Linked DNA regions of Homo sapiens: regions 2 and 3 are each linked to region 1. The links are contacts of gene promoters, found by promoter capture Hi-C in human tissues and cell types (Jung and others, 2019). All regions are on one chromosome and are shown on one strand. Each heading gives the region's core, a stretch centred on a gene start or on the middle of the fragment in contact. The rest is flanking DNA. Distances are from core to core; before and after follow the strand shown.

Evidence for each region. The method cuts DNA at HindIII sites, captures the fragments that hold promoters and counts their contacts. A contact is called where the count stands out against the background at its distance.
Region 2: a contact is called between a fragment that was not itself captured here and the fragment with the promoter of EPPK1 in region 1, in 4 of the 25 tissues and cell types used here (dorsolateral prefrontal cortex, mesenchymal stem cells, mesendoderm cells and 1 more).
Region 3: the fragment with the promoter of GRINA here is called in contact with the fragment with the promoter of EPPK1 in region 1 in 3 of the 25 tissues and cell types used here (liver, mesendoderm cells and thymus).

Annotation. Positions count from the first base shown.
Region 1 is chr8:143,875,893-143,880,419 of GRCh38, reverse strand. EPPK1 (epiplakin 1) reads left to right here and starts at 1,953. Exons shown (of 2, transcript NM_031308.4): 1 at 1,953-1,982. RefSeq lists enhancers at 601-1,243, 4,463-4,527 and a silencer at 1,810-1,899. The HindIII fragment of the contact is 27,880 bases long and covers 1-4,527 here.
Region 2 is chr8:143,762,190-143,766,716 of GRCh38, reverse strand. All of the region lies in intron 3 of IQANK1 (IQ motif and ankyrin repeat containing 1), which reads right to left. Among named protein-coding and RNA genes, the nearest start is that of IQANK1, 30 kb to the right of the region's middle. The HindIII fragment of the contact is 9,724 bases long and covers 1-4,527 here.
Region 3 is chr8:143,988,199-143,992,725 of GRCh38, reverse strand. GRINA (glutamate ionotropic receptor NMDA type subunit associated protein 1) reads right to left here and starts at 2,670. Exons shown (of 7, transcript NM_001009184.2): 1 at 2,527-2,670; 2 at 1,124-1,526; 3 at 922-1,034; 4 at 648-848; 5 at 353-481; 6 at 118-261; 7 at 1-34. The coding sequence starts at 1,502. It also overlaps a transcript of PARP10 not described here. RefSeq lists an enhancer at 424-925 and silencers at 1,589-1,638, 1,471-1,765, 1,689-1,948, 2,079-2,218, 2,239-2,738. The HindIII fragment of the contact is 16,067 bases long and covers 1-4,527 here.

The sequences.
Region 1 (4,527 bases), core at 704-3,203:
AGGCCCAGGCCTGGGGGCTGGAGGAGTGGCCTGTGGCTCCGGGGACTGCTGGGCTGAAGCACTGGACTGGAGCCCCTGGGGAGGTGGTGGCTCCCAGAAGCCCTGACTGGGAGTGGCCCAGGGACCTGGGGAGTAGGGCAGGCACCCAAGTCTGCCCCCAGAGGTGTCCCCAGAGGTCACTGGGCTGGGGGCCACCACAGGGCAGGGGATCTGGAGTCACAGGAAGACAAAGCCGAGGGAGAGGAGCCAGGGGACAGATGCCAGTGGGTGCAGCAGAGCAGGGCCAGCTCCATGCCACCTGCCTATACCAGGGGGGTGACGGGCAGAAATGGGTGCAGCGGAGCAGGGCCAGCTCCGTGCCACCTGCCTATACTGGAGGGGTGACGGGCAGAAATGGGTGCAGCGGAGCAGGGCCAGCTCTGTGCCACCTGCCTATACCGGAGGGGTGAGGAGCAGACAGGCATGTGGCCCGTCCCTGGGCACACAAGAAGGCTTGGTCTGGCCAGCCTAACACCCCCTTCTTGCAGCGAGGGGCTGGCATACACCCAGGTTTTGTGGCCTGGCAGGGGCGCTGCCTGCAATGGCTCACCGCAGGAAGAAGTGGCTCTGGGGTGTGCTCCAGGCCACAGGCCATAGCCAGCACCACCATGCCTCCCAGCAAGACCACACAGACAGTGTCCAGGCATCCGGTGAGCAGGGCTGGGGATGGATGCGGTTGGCCTGGCAGTGCCTTGGGGAAATGCGGGTTCCACCAGAGCTCCTCTGGGGTCAGGGCCCCGCAGTCGGCAGCAGCCATGCTGTGCGGCCAGTGTGGCAGGTGTGGACAGGGTCCAGGCAGCCTGGGTGAGCAGGTGTGAGTGTGGACCTGGTGGGTGGGTGAGAGCAGAGCCAGGGCAGTGGTCCCAAGCACCCTAACCCCTGAAGGCCTAACCTGTCCCTCCTGCACCTGCGTGGGCGCCTGCAATTACCCTCATGGTGTGCATTGGAGGTGGCTGGCTGGCTCTGGATGATTTTCTGGTCAAGAATGACTCAGGCAGAGGTGGGGGCTGGAGCTTGGGAGAAGGGGGCACTTGTGGGGGTGGGGAGCACCTGAGCCCTCAGGACCTCCAGGACTACGGGACAGAGGAGGAGGGGCCTTGGGGACAGAGGAGGAGGGGCTTTGGGCCCTGTACTTCCGTGGCCCTGCCCACCTGGGATATCGGGGCAGCCAAGGGGAGGGCCCTCCAGAAGATCCATGGAAGGTTCCCGTGCCAGGCTGAGGCTGCCCCCAGGCCAGCCCCCGAGGCTGTGAGCCTCCATGCCCAGTGTCTCTGGCATGCCCCAGCCTTGGAAGGTGGGTGCCAGGATGGGCTTCAGAGAGGGGACCAGGTACTCCCAGGGTGACAGGGAACATTCTCTGTGCCCAGGTGGAGGAGCCAGACCGGGGGGTGAGGCCTGGCACTGCTCCAGGCAGGACATCCCAGCTCTTACAACGTCATGGGGGCAGGGGGGCCTGCCAAGGAGAGCCTTGAAGACCCCTGGACCCAGCAGACACACGACGTGAAGCAGCGTCCCCAGGAAGCTGAGCAGACAAGGTGGGGTCGGGGCTGGAGGCAGGGACACCAGCCCGCACCGCATTAGTGGCTTGTGGGGATAGAAACCGCCGCTCTGGCCGGTCCGCGTTTCACTCCAAACTCCTTTCCCAAAAAAAAAAAGCTGTTCTGAAGGGCACAGGACGCCTCCGCGCCCGCCCTGCGTTCCTTCGCGGTGACTCCCTGCTGGGGACGAGGGGAGGGTCCCGGCTGCCCAGCCGCCGCCCCTTGCCCGGGGTGCAAGCGCCAGGCCCGGGCCGCGCGGGGTTTCCGGCACCTGCCCGCCCCGCCCCGCCCCGCGTCGGGGCCCCGACCTGGGCGCCGCCCTAGACGGGGGCGGGGCCTGTGGGGCTTGAAATGCGGGCGGAGCGGGCGCGCGGAGACACTGCGGACCGAGCGGCGAGCGGGCAGGTGCGGCGGGTGCGGCGGGTGCGGCGGGTGCGGCGGGTGCGGGCAGGTGCGGCGGGTGCGGGCAGGTGCGGCGGGTGCGGGTGCGGGCTCGGGGCCGGGCGGGGCGGCGGCCGCCGAAGGAAACCGGATCCCCGCTGGAGCCGCACGCCGAGGCCAGGGTAGGGGCGCGGCGGCCAGCGGGGTCTTGGGCTCTGGCCGGGCAGGTTTCCCGCCCTGGGCAATTTGAGCTCCGAGTCCGAAGTGGCGCCCCTGAGTCCCGGGCGCCGGTGAAGAGGAGGCGCCGGCCCCGAGCCCTCACGGGAGAGGCGGCCAGGGGCGGGGGTCTCGCAGGCCCAGCGGTTTTCCCTGCAGCGAGGACCGCCCGGGGCACGCTCTGCAGGGTGGGGAACGCCCAGGCCAGGAGGCAGCTAGGCCGACAAATTGAGAGGGGTGACTCCTGGCAACATTGCCGGGAGGGAGGCGTCACGGATCCGGGGAAGCTGCCTGCTGTTGGGTGAGCGGTCCCAGGGGTGGCCACTCCGGGTCAGGTAAGCGGTCACACGGTCGCCTGGAGACCCGTGGGAGGCAGAGGCAGGAAGGGCCCTGTTCATCACTTGGGCCCAGGGCTCTGCTTCCCTGCCCTGGGCCCCCGCTGCACTGTGCCAAGCTTGTTATTGGGGCCACTGATCTCTGATCATGGTGCAGGTTGCAGGTGGGTGGGGTCTTCCCACAAGGGCACACAGCCGGGCAGAAGCTAAGGCTGCTGCCTCCTGTGTGGGCCCAGGCAGCTGCCAGGGTCTGTCCTGACCTGACTCAGGCAGGCGGCTGCAGCCTCCCCAACCTTTGTCCCAGGCTGCGGTGGGGGCCTGCCGGGCAGTCTGGTGACAGACAGTGACCTCACCCAAGAGATGCAGACCCACCCTCCTCAGGAACGGCCCTCCACCACTTGGGGCCTGGGGGCCACCTGAAGTGGGGAATCCACAGGAGGGGCCCTTTGTGCCTCAGGCTCCGGGGAAATCTGCTCGGCCTCCTCCCCACCCCATCACCCTAACCCTGACCCCGTGCTCTCCTAGGCAGCAGCCACCTCCTCCAGATGCCCCCACACTCGAAGCTGCACCCCCTGCCCCCCCTCGCTCCGGACCCTCTGTCCAGCTGCCCTCCCAGGCCCCACATGGAGTCAAGACACCCACTCCCGGGCCTTCCTCCTGCCAAGCCTGGGAAGGGGCAGGGCCCAGGGAAGGGGCAGGGCCCAGAGGGGTTCATACCAGGCCCAAGGTCAGGAAGAGATAGGGAGTGGTGCAGCCAGCCACAGGCCGCATCTCACGCATGGTGCGGGGCATGCACTGGCAGGCACACTCACACACGCAGGGCAAGCCTGCCCCCGACTCCCTGCTCCCAAGCGCCCTGTCTCCAGCCTTCCTCCCTGGATCTCCTCTTTGTTTGGGGAACTTGAGCCACTTGCCTGAGCTTACGAGGCCCGCTTAGCACGCGGCCTGTCTGGGCTGGCGGCCTGTGCGCAGGTCAGGGGCCCGCCCAAGGTGCTGTCCCCACCCTCACTGGCCCTGCCCCGCCCTCGCTGGCCCTGCCCCACCCTGGCCCGCACTGCCCCTCCCCCTTGCTGGGAAATCAGGTGCTCCTCTCATTTCCTCACCGCCATCCCTGGCCGGATGTCAGGGGACAGGGCAGGGCCCTGACCCCCTAGAAGCCCCTCGTCTGGCCTGGATGCCATAGTGAGTGGCTGCCTTAGGCTCACAGATCCTGGAGGGTCCTGGAACGAGGCGTGCTGGAGAGGGCCCAGCCCTAGGGGAGGCAGGTGCCAGTAGAGGTGGACACAAAAGCGCCCAGGCTGGGTTCCCAGAAGCAGAGTCTGTCTGAGGCAGGGGTAACCGGGAGTGGTCTCAGGATGGCCTCAGGAAGGGAAGGGAGGAGGAAGCAGGTGGACGAAGGAGAAGCTGGCCTGTCCTGCCGTCTCATGTACCCCCCAGAAGCAGATCTGGACAGCCCCGTAGCCACCCCGGTCAGGCTGTGCCCTTGAGCCTGGCCTCTTCCTGGGGAAGTGCAGAAACAAGTTTTGCAGGGTGGACCTGGCCCCTGGGGCTGCCTCCCCGTCCTCCAGACTGGATGCCCTCAACCCGGGCGCGCCTGCTGGCTCAGGGCTTGTCAGGTGTGACCAGGTCCTCTTCCCTGAGGGTCCCCTCTAGGGCTGGGGGTGATGTTCTATTTACCATGAGAACCAGGCAGGGCACACCAGGTCCCTGCACCCTGTCTGCCCCTGTGGTGCCGCCTCCTGGTGCTCAGGCCTGTCCCCTGCCAGATGGGAGCCTCCTCCTGGCTGCTTGCTCCTGGGACATGATGGGCCTGGGAGCAGCATAGCCTTTGGCTTGGTGACACTAGCTGTGTCCCCTGGCAGAAGTGTTCCTACTCCAGGGACCAGGACATCTAAGCCCACCCGCCCCAGAGCTGTGGGGTCGAGGAGCCCAAGCTCCATCATAGGTCAGTGGGGGGTGGGGGGTGGGGGCCACTGTGCCAGGCCTTGGTTCCTGGGCCCCTGTGACCCACCTCCTGG
Region 2 (4,527 bases), core at 823-3,322, 110 kb after region 1:
AAAACATGTTAAAATCAGTACGTTCTTTTTTTTTTCTTTTTTTCGTGAGACAGAATCTCGCACCGTCACGTAGGCTGGAGTGCAGTGACTCGATCCTGGCTCACTGCAACCTCCACCTCCCGGGTTCAAGCGATTCTCCTGCCTCAGCCTCCCAGGTAGCTGGGATTACAAGTGCCCACCACCACGCCTGGCTAATTTTTGTATTTTTAGTAGAGATGGGGTTTCACCATGTTGGCCAGGCTGGTCTTGAACTCCTGACCTCAGGTGATCCACCCACCTCAGCCTCCCAAAGTGCTGAGATTACAGGCATGAGCCACCATGCCCAGCAAAAATCAGTTAGTTCTATTCACGAGAAGACACCATTGAAAGTAAAAATGCCAGTGAGTGGGAGAAGGTATTTGCAATCCATGTAACTGACAAAAGGTTTGTATTCCGAATATATTGGGAAATACTACAAAGCCGTAAGAAAAAAGGCAGCAGCACAATAGAGAACTAGTAACATACCTGAATGCACACAAGAGCCTACCCAGGTGGCCAATAAATATATGGAAATGTGATGAATCTCATTAGTCACCAGGGAAATCCAATCTAAAACCTCACCTAATACCACGCACACCGGCTAGAGAGAGGCTGCTACTACCCACGGGAGGCTTGCAGAACACCGGTCCCTACACTGCTGTGGGGAGGGAAATCAGAACACCCACGTCAGCAGACGGCTTGGCACACCTGTGCCTTAGCAACCTTTCTCCCAGGTGTGTGCCCCCAAAAATGCATGGATGTGTGCACCAGGAGACACGTGCAAGAAAATCCATGCTAGTGTTATTTTTAAAACCAAAATCTACAAATAATCCAAATGTCTACCAGCAGTAGAATGAATCAGTAATGTTATATGCACATAACAGACACCTAAACAGCCATGAACATGAACCACAGCTACATAAAACAAAGGATGACTTTTAAAATATGTACTTTATATACCACAAAGGAAAAGACGACTAAAGCATGTCAAAATGTAAAACTTCTGCTTATCTAAAAATAACATACCAAAAGTGAAAAACCATATAAATTTGGAAAAGAAATTTGCAACACATAAACCTGTTAAAGAACTTCTGCATATGTCAAAGAAACAGGTAAGTAATCCATAGAGCAATGGGCAGAGAGATGAACAGGCATTTCCCAGAAGAGGAAAATGGATTGGCTAATAAACCTTTGAAAACACATTCCATGAAATGCAAACTAAAATTACCATGGAGGCTCATTTTATATCCAGTAATTTTGCAAAATGTAAAGATAGACATTCTCAGATTGGGTGAGGATGAGAGGATTATATATAATCATAAATATATGATTTTTTTTTTTTGAGACAAGGTCTTACTCTGTCTCCCAGGCTGGAGTGCAGTGGTGTGATCCTGGCTCACTGCAACCTCGGCCTCCAGGGTTCAAGTGATTCTCCCACCTCAGCCTCCCAAGTAGCGGGGATTACAGGCGTGCGCCACCATGCCTGGCTAACTTCTGTATTTTTTGGTAGAGACGGGGTTTTACCACGTTGGCCAGGCTGGTCTTGAACTCCTGACCTCAAGGGATCTGCCCGCCTTGGCCTCCCAAAGTGCTGGGATTACAGACATGAGCCAACAAACCCGGCGCGGCTATATATATGATTCTTGAAATTTTTATTTTTTATTTTTTGAAAATTGTATTTTAAAAGTAAGGGAATGGTGAACACATTTGTAAGAGTGGATTCATCTGCAGGGAGGAGCAGAGTTAGGTGGGGATGCAATAGTGTTGGTGACATGTGAGCTCTTACATTCTATTGTCCTAAGGCACATATATATTACATATGTTCTTTTGTACACAATTTTTAAGAGATTTTTATGCATCCAGCAATTCCTTGAGGTTCACTAATTTTCATTTGTTAAATTTAACATTTTATTTTTAAAATGAAATGTATAAAATATCTCTGCTGTTATAACATTCTCTCTCTCCATCTCTTTCTGCCTCTTCATAATTATGGAAATTTACCCCTGTAAAAATGGAGAGAGAAATATTTGGATTATTTATCAAATGTTTGCACGTTTGTTATTTCTTTTTTCAGTTTTGTTTTGTTTGGTTTTTTTAGAAACAGGGTCTTGCTTTGTTACTGAGGCTGGAGTGCAGTGACGCCATCACGGCTCACTGCAGCCTTGACCTCCCCAGGCTCAGGTGATCCACCCACCTCAGTCTCCTGAGGAGCTGGGACTACAGGCACTAATTTTTTTTTTTTTTTTTGTAGCGACGGAGTCTCACCATGTTGCCCAGGCTGGTCTCAAACTCCTGAGCTCAAGTGATCCTCCCACCTCAACTTCCCAGAGTGCTGGGGTTTAAGGCAGGAGCCACTGCGCCTGGTCTGCACGTTTGTTATTTCTGAATACTGGGATACTGGAATATTGGATGATTTGTGATCTGCAGCTTTTTCCTTTGATTTGGGGGCGTTGCTTACAGGTTGTATGAGTCAGGTTTTGTTCGTTTTTTTTCTGCTACCAAGCAGCTGTCCACCTTTCCTGTGCAGGTGGAATCCTCTGCCGCCGAGTCCTTCCGGCGGGCCCTCCACACAATGTTTCCTGTCTCTGTTCTGTGACTGCTGAGAGTATCAGAGGAATGTAGAACTTTAAACAAGGCATGGTCCTTGAAGGAGAATCATCCTTCTATTCCCAGATCAGCTACATATTTTTAAATTCCCAAATCAAAACTTGAGGGACTTTTTGTGACTCCGTTGAAATGAATTATCATATCTCGTATAACAAAAAATTACCAGCTTAAGTCCCCAGTGTATTCATATGTTAAAAGAGGGTTAACCACTCTGCCTGCCCCTAGGGCTTGTGGATTTTGTTTCTGTTTGGAGGATCAATTGGCTAATGTGTTAGTCTGTTTTTGCATTGCCACAGAGGAACACCTGAGACTGGGTAATTTATAAAGAGAAGAGGTTTACTTGGCTCACGGTTCTGCAGGCTGCACAAGCATGGCACCTGCATCTGCTCTGCTTCTGGGGAGGCCTCAGGAAGCCTTTACTCATGGTAGAAGGTAAAGGAGAAGCAGGTGTGCCCCATGGCAAGTGGCAGAGCAAGATGGATGCCAGGCTGTGTAACCAACCAGCTCTCGTGCGAGCTTGTGAGCTCACGGAGTGGAACTAATGATGGTGAGGAGGGCACCAAACCATTCATGAGAGACCCGCCCCCATGATCCAAACACCTCCCACCAGGCCCCACTTTTGACATTGGGGATCACACTTCAATACGAGATTTGGAGGGGACCAAACCATATCAGCTAATAAATATAAAATACTTAGAGCAGGGTCTCACACACAATAAGCATTCAACAGATGTTAACTACCATTATCATATTCTTACCATCATTATAAGAAAAGCCAGGCCGGGCACGGTGGCTCACGCCTGTAATCCCAGCACTTTGGGAGGCCAAGGCGGGCAGATCATGAGGTCAGGACTTTGAGACCAGCCTGGCTGACATGGTGAAACCCCGTCTCTAATAAAAATACAAAAATTAGCCAGGCGTGGTGGCGGGCGCCTGTAATCCCAGCTACTCAGGGGGCTGAGGCAGGAGAATCTCCTGAACCAGGAGGCAGAGGTTGCAGTGAGCTGAGATCGCACCACTGCACTCCAGCCTGGGTGACAGAGCAAGACTCAGTTTTAAGAAAAGAAAAAGAAAAGGAAAAGAAAGGGAAAAGGAAAAGGAAAACAAAAGGAAAGGAAAGGAAAGAAAAGAAAAGAGAAAAGAAAAAAAAAGAAAAGAGGGAGGGTCATGAATTTCCTACCACAACAGCCTGTCAGAGAAAACACAGCATCACTAGGGGATTGCGTAGACTAATTGCACAGTCTGAGACTTCATTCTCCAGTTTTATTTCAATAGAAAATGATGGTTTTGGGGAATGCCTAGGTCATTGTCAGCTTAATCAGAAGGTGACTCCCCTTGCAGCTGCTGTTCCAAGTGTGTTCTCCTTAATGAAACAAATCAATACAATTTACCACCTGTTATGCAGTGACTGATCTGGTAAATATTTTTTCCTTCCTCAATCAACATTCACCAGAAGCAAGTTGCCCCTCCATGGAAGTGGCATCAGCGTATCTTCCCATCTTGTCATGTCCACAGGGAGCTTGGTGGTCTCAGCACCCCTGAGATGATCTTGACAGTGCAGTATGCTGATGAGGGCACAGGGATAGGACCTGGGAAGCTTTTGGAAGCAGTGGATGCCCTGGCTGCCTAGTGAGATGTCCATGCCTGGCAGATGGGCACAGCTGGCCAAACAGGGCCTGGCTCCTGGGTAAAGCTCTGAACATCCAGCCGTCTACACTGTGGTCCTCAAACTTTCTTTTCTTTTCTTTTCCCTCCCTCCCTCCCTTCCTTCCTTCCTTCCTTTAGATGGAGTTTCACTCTTGTTGCCCAGGCTGGAGTGCAATGGCGCGATCTCGGCTCACTGCAACCACTGCCTTCTGGGTTCAAGCGATTCCCACCTCAGCCTCCCGAGTAGCTGGGATT
Region 3 (4,527 bases), core at 1,421-3,920, 110 kb before region 1:
TCCCCAGTAGCAGCTGGGTGTCCACTGCGAGGAACTGGAGGTGACAGCACAGTGGTGTTGAGGGACAAGCCTGCCTGCCCAGCATCCCGCCCCCGGCCAAGGTCACCCCTCACTCACGCAGGTGAAGAGCAGAGCGCCCAGTGAGGCGTACACGATCTCCAGGATGCGGTTCCGGATGAAGATGCAGAGAATGGCGAAGATGAAGAGCACCACCATGCTCACCAGGAGCACGCCCATGCATGAGGTGAAGTCGTAGCGGGTCTGCAGGTGGGAGAGGAACGGGCCATGGGGCTGGGCCTGGGAAAGCTGCTCAGCCCCTGCGGCCACAGCCCAGCCACGGGAGGCCCCTCACCTGCATGGAGAAGATGACGACGGTGAAGCAGACGGCTGTGGTGATGCCCACGGCCATGATGACTGCCTCGGTGTTGTAGAAGCTGGCGATCATCCCCACCATGTACGACAGGCTGGCGGTCAGGACCGACTGCAGTTGGGAGACACAGGCTGACCTTGGGTGTGTGCCCCCATGCCACCCCTGCCGGCCCCTGCCTCATGAGCACAAGGAGAACCACGGTGACCAGGCCCGGAAGAGTGGGCGTGTGGGACTGCATGGCCGGACCCAGGCACAGAGGCTCAGGTTTGGGGGTTACCAGTGCAACAAGGTTCCAGGGGTGCTTTCGCCGGAAGTCCCCACAACAGCTGAGGACGATGAGAGAGATGAAGAAGACAGCATAGGAGACATAGTAGGTCCAGACATTCTCCCGGACAAAGCCCTTCACCTCCGCAACAAAAGTGAACACAGACACCGTGGACAGGGTCACCGACAGCTGCAAGGTCAGCACTAGGAACACCTGGGGAAGGAGCCGCTCAGAGTCATCCGCTGGGAGCCACAGCCCCCACCGCCTTGGAGATGCCCCTACCCACCTTGCGGATGAAGGCCTGTCGGATGCTCTTGTCATCCCAGTTGGTGGCAGGGAAGTCCTGGTTGTCATAGTAGGATGGGGGACCCTCCTCCTGGTAGTTTCCATGCTGGGGTGCTGAGAAGCAGACAGGCTGGGTCAGCGCCACTCACAAGCACCTCCCCCTGCCCTCCCGGCCACCCCACCCCTCCCTTCCTGAGACTCACAGTCAGGGTCTTGTCCTGGGAAGACCTGTGGCTGTCCATAGGGGTTGGGGGGGAAGGGGCTCTGGGGATATGGCCCCTGGGGGTAGCCCCCTTGGGGGTAGGGGCCCTGTGGGTAGCCCTCTTGTGGGTAGGGGCCCTGTGGGTAGCCCCCTTGGGGGTAGGGACCCTGTGGGTAGCCCCCTTGGGGGTAGGGGCTGGGGCCATGGGGGTACCCTGGCTGACCGTAGGGGGAGGGCTGGAAAGGGGGCTGTGGGTAAGGGGCCCCAGGGTAGGGAGGCTGAGCATAGGGGGGCATGGGTGGCTGGGGCCCCCCCGGATATCCAGGGTTGGGGGGAGGATAGTTGTCCCCAGACACCAAAAAACTCTTTTCATGGGACATGGCCTCGGGTTCCGCGGTCCGCCCCTAGAGAAGACAGACAAGGAACAGTGGAACAGTTGGCTTGACGACAGCGTCGGGACCCAGCCCTGCGCAACTCCACCTGCTTCTGGGAACCCAGGGGGAAGCAAGGGAAGACCGTGACCTTTGCCCCGGGCTGTGGGGAGCCCCGGAGCCTGGGCCCGGAGAAGCGCGTGAGGACCGGACGGGCGGCGCCGTGGGGCCTTCCCAGGGCTCTAGGCCGCCTTTAGGGTGGGGGAGGGGCCGGGCGAGGGGACGACCGCCAGCCTCGGGATTTGGGGCTTGGGTCGTTTCTCACAAGCAACCGGAGGCCTGCGCCGCTGCCGGCGTCTCCCGGGTGGGAGCTCAGCGCGGAGGCTGGGGTCTCGGCCGGGGACGTGTGGGGTGTGCCCGGACCCTCCCCTCCGCATCCCGCCCCTTAAGCAGCTTTAAGGGGCCGGAGCCGGCGGCTATTTCTATCCCAGGAAATCCCCGGGCCATCTGTGACCAACAAAGGCCCGAGCCCCCCCACCCCCGCGAGCCCAACAACAGGGCCCAACGGCCCCTGGCTCCGGGGTGGGGGGATCGGGCCTGGATCGGCTGCCGGTGCCTGCCAGTGGGGTACGCCGGGAACAGCGGGGTGCGGGGGTGTGTGGGGGATGGAAGCGACCACGGGGCGTGCGGGGAACAAAGCGGGCGTGGGGCGAGGCGGGTAGGGGCTGCGGCCGTGGCACTGGCACCGAGAGCGGATGGGCCCTCCGCGGGCCGGGGGCGCACAGGGTCACGGGTCCAGCAGTCGCCGCAGCGCGCCGCCCCCTCCCTCCGGCTCCAGGCCGCCGCGGCTCCCCGCCCCCACCACCGCCGCCACCTCTGGCCGCGAGCTGCCGCGCGCCCCGGCCGGACCAACTTACTGACCCGAGGCGGCCACGCTCGGATGCGCAAGATCCGCGTGGGGGCGGGGGCGGGGGCGGCAGGCCGCGCGGCGCAGCGGGTCAGAGGCGCTCCTGGGCTCGGGCCGGGGACTCACCGGTGGCCGGGCGCCGCAGGCCGGTACGCACGGTGTCCGCTGCGCGGCCGCGCGGTGATGGCCGATGCGCCCGCACCCGCACCCGCTCGGCGGCCGCTCAGCTGGGCCTGCGCCTGCGGCTCGGAAGACGCAGCGGGGCCTTGTGACGGGGCGGGGCAGGGGGCGGGGCCGGGCGAGCTTCGGGGTGGGAGGGGCAGGTGGGCGGGGCTTCCGCGGACCCCTCCCGCTGCGCCGCCTTGCGTGTTCCTCTTCGCTCCGGCCAGAGGCCCGCCTCTCACTGTCTGCCGAGGGGTGGGGTCGGGCGGTGGGCGCTGAAGACCCCTGGAGGCAGAAGTCTGGTCTGGCCAATTTGACTGGCCGTTCGGTAGTTAAGAAATTTATTCCTAAATGCGGGATTTGCTGAAGCTGCCCGGGACTGACCGTCCGTTCTCGGCCTTAAAACCCGACGTTCACTTCTTTTCATCCAGATCTCTCCCAAATCAAGAAGCCTAATCCTTTAGTTCCCAAATCGAGGCCTCGTGGTTTAATTGCCCCATTTGCTCTGTCAGCCCAAACTCTGCCAGGCCTGCTACTAGAGACCCTTTTTTATTTTTTTAATTCTTGTGGATACATAGTAGGTGTATATTTACGGGCTACATGGGATGTTTTGATACAGGCATGCCATGGATAATAATCACATCAAGGTAAATGGGGTATCCATCAGCTCAGGCATTTTGTCCTTCGTGTTACAAACAATCCAGTTATACTCTTGGAGTTGTTTTAAAATGTACAATTATTCTTGACCACAGTCACCCTTTGTACTAACAAATACGATGTCTTGTTTTCACACTAGAGACCCTGAACGCTCGCTTGTCTGCCTAACGTCCTCACAAGCTGCGAGGGGCTGAGGCTTGGGGATGCAGCAGGACTGGAGGCCAGGCCACCTCCCTGCTTAGCTCCCAAGTCCTCTTGGGGGAGCAGTGACTGACACAGGCAGGGTACATCCTGCTGCCAGCCTTCCCACCCGGGGCCCAGACCCCACCTGCCCTCCCGCCCTTGGAGGGCCGGCCTCTCCCAGGCCGCTCTGAGTCCTGCACCTATGGTGCGCTGGCGCAGTGTTTAGCAGCCGGACCTAGTGAGGGGAAGCCTGGGGTGCGTGTTTTGCACATGCGCGTGGTGTGAATACTCCACCGGGGCTGGTTTCAAGTTACCCCCAGCTGGACAACCAGTCCACAGAAATTCCCGAAACTGTACCAGTCTGCTTGTGGTGTGAGTGGTGCCTGTGGCAGGCCCTCTGCAGCCAGGGTCGGCGTAATGGATAACCTGTGATGAGTTCCATTAGAGAAAACGTGGAAAAAGCAGGGATGGATTTACCCTTGTAGAAGGTAACTTCTACCTTTGTAGAAGCAGAAGCTCACAAAATTTGAGAGACCTTTAAGAAAAATAAAATGCTTGCTGGGCGCGGTGGCTTACGCCTGTAATCCCAGCACTTTGGGAGGCCGAGGCGGGTGGATCACAAGGTCAGGAGATGGAGACCATCCTGGCTAACACGGTGAAACCCCGTCTCTACTAAAAATACAAAAAAAAATTAGCTGGGCGTGGTGGTGTGCACCTGTAATCCCAGCTATTGGGGGGGCTGAGGCAGGAGAATGGCTTGAACCTGGGAGGCAGAGGTTACAGTGAGCTGAGATCGTGCCACCGCACTCCAGCCTGCGTAACAGAGTGTGACTCTGTCTCAAAAAATAAATAAATAAGTAAATAAAAATAAAATAGCTGGGTATGGTGGCTGGCACCAGTAATCCCAGCACTTTGGGAGGCTGAGGCAGGTGGATCATCTGAGGTCAGGAGTTTGAGACCAGTCTGCCCAATAGGGTGAAACCCTGTCTCTGCTAAAAATACAAAAATTAGCTGGGCATGGTGGTGCGTGCCTGTAATCCCAGCTACTTGGGAGGCTTAGGCAGGAGAATCCCTTGAACCCAGTGGGTGGACGTTGCAGTGAGCCGAGATCACGGCACTTCACTC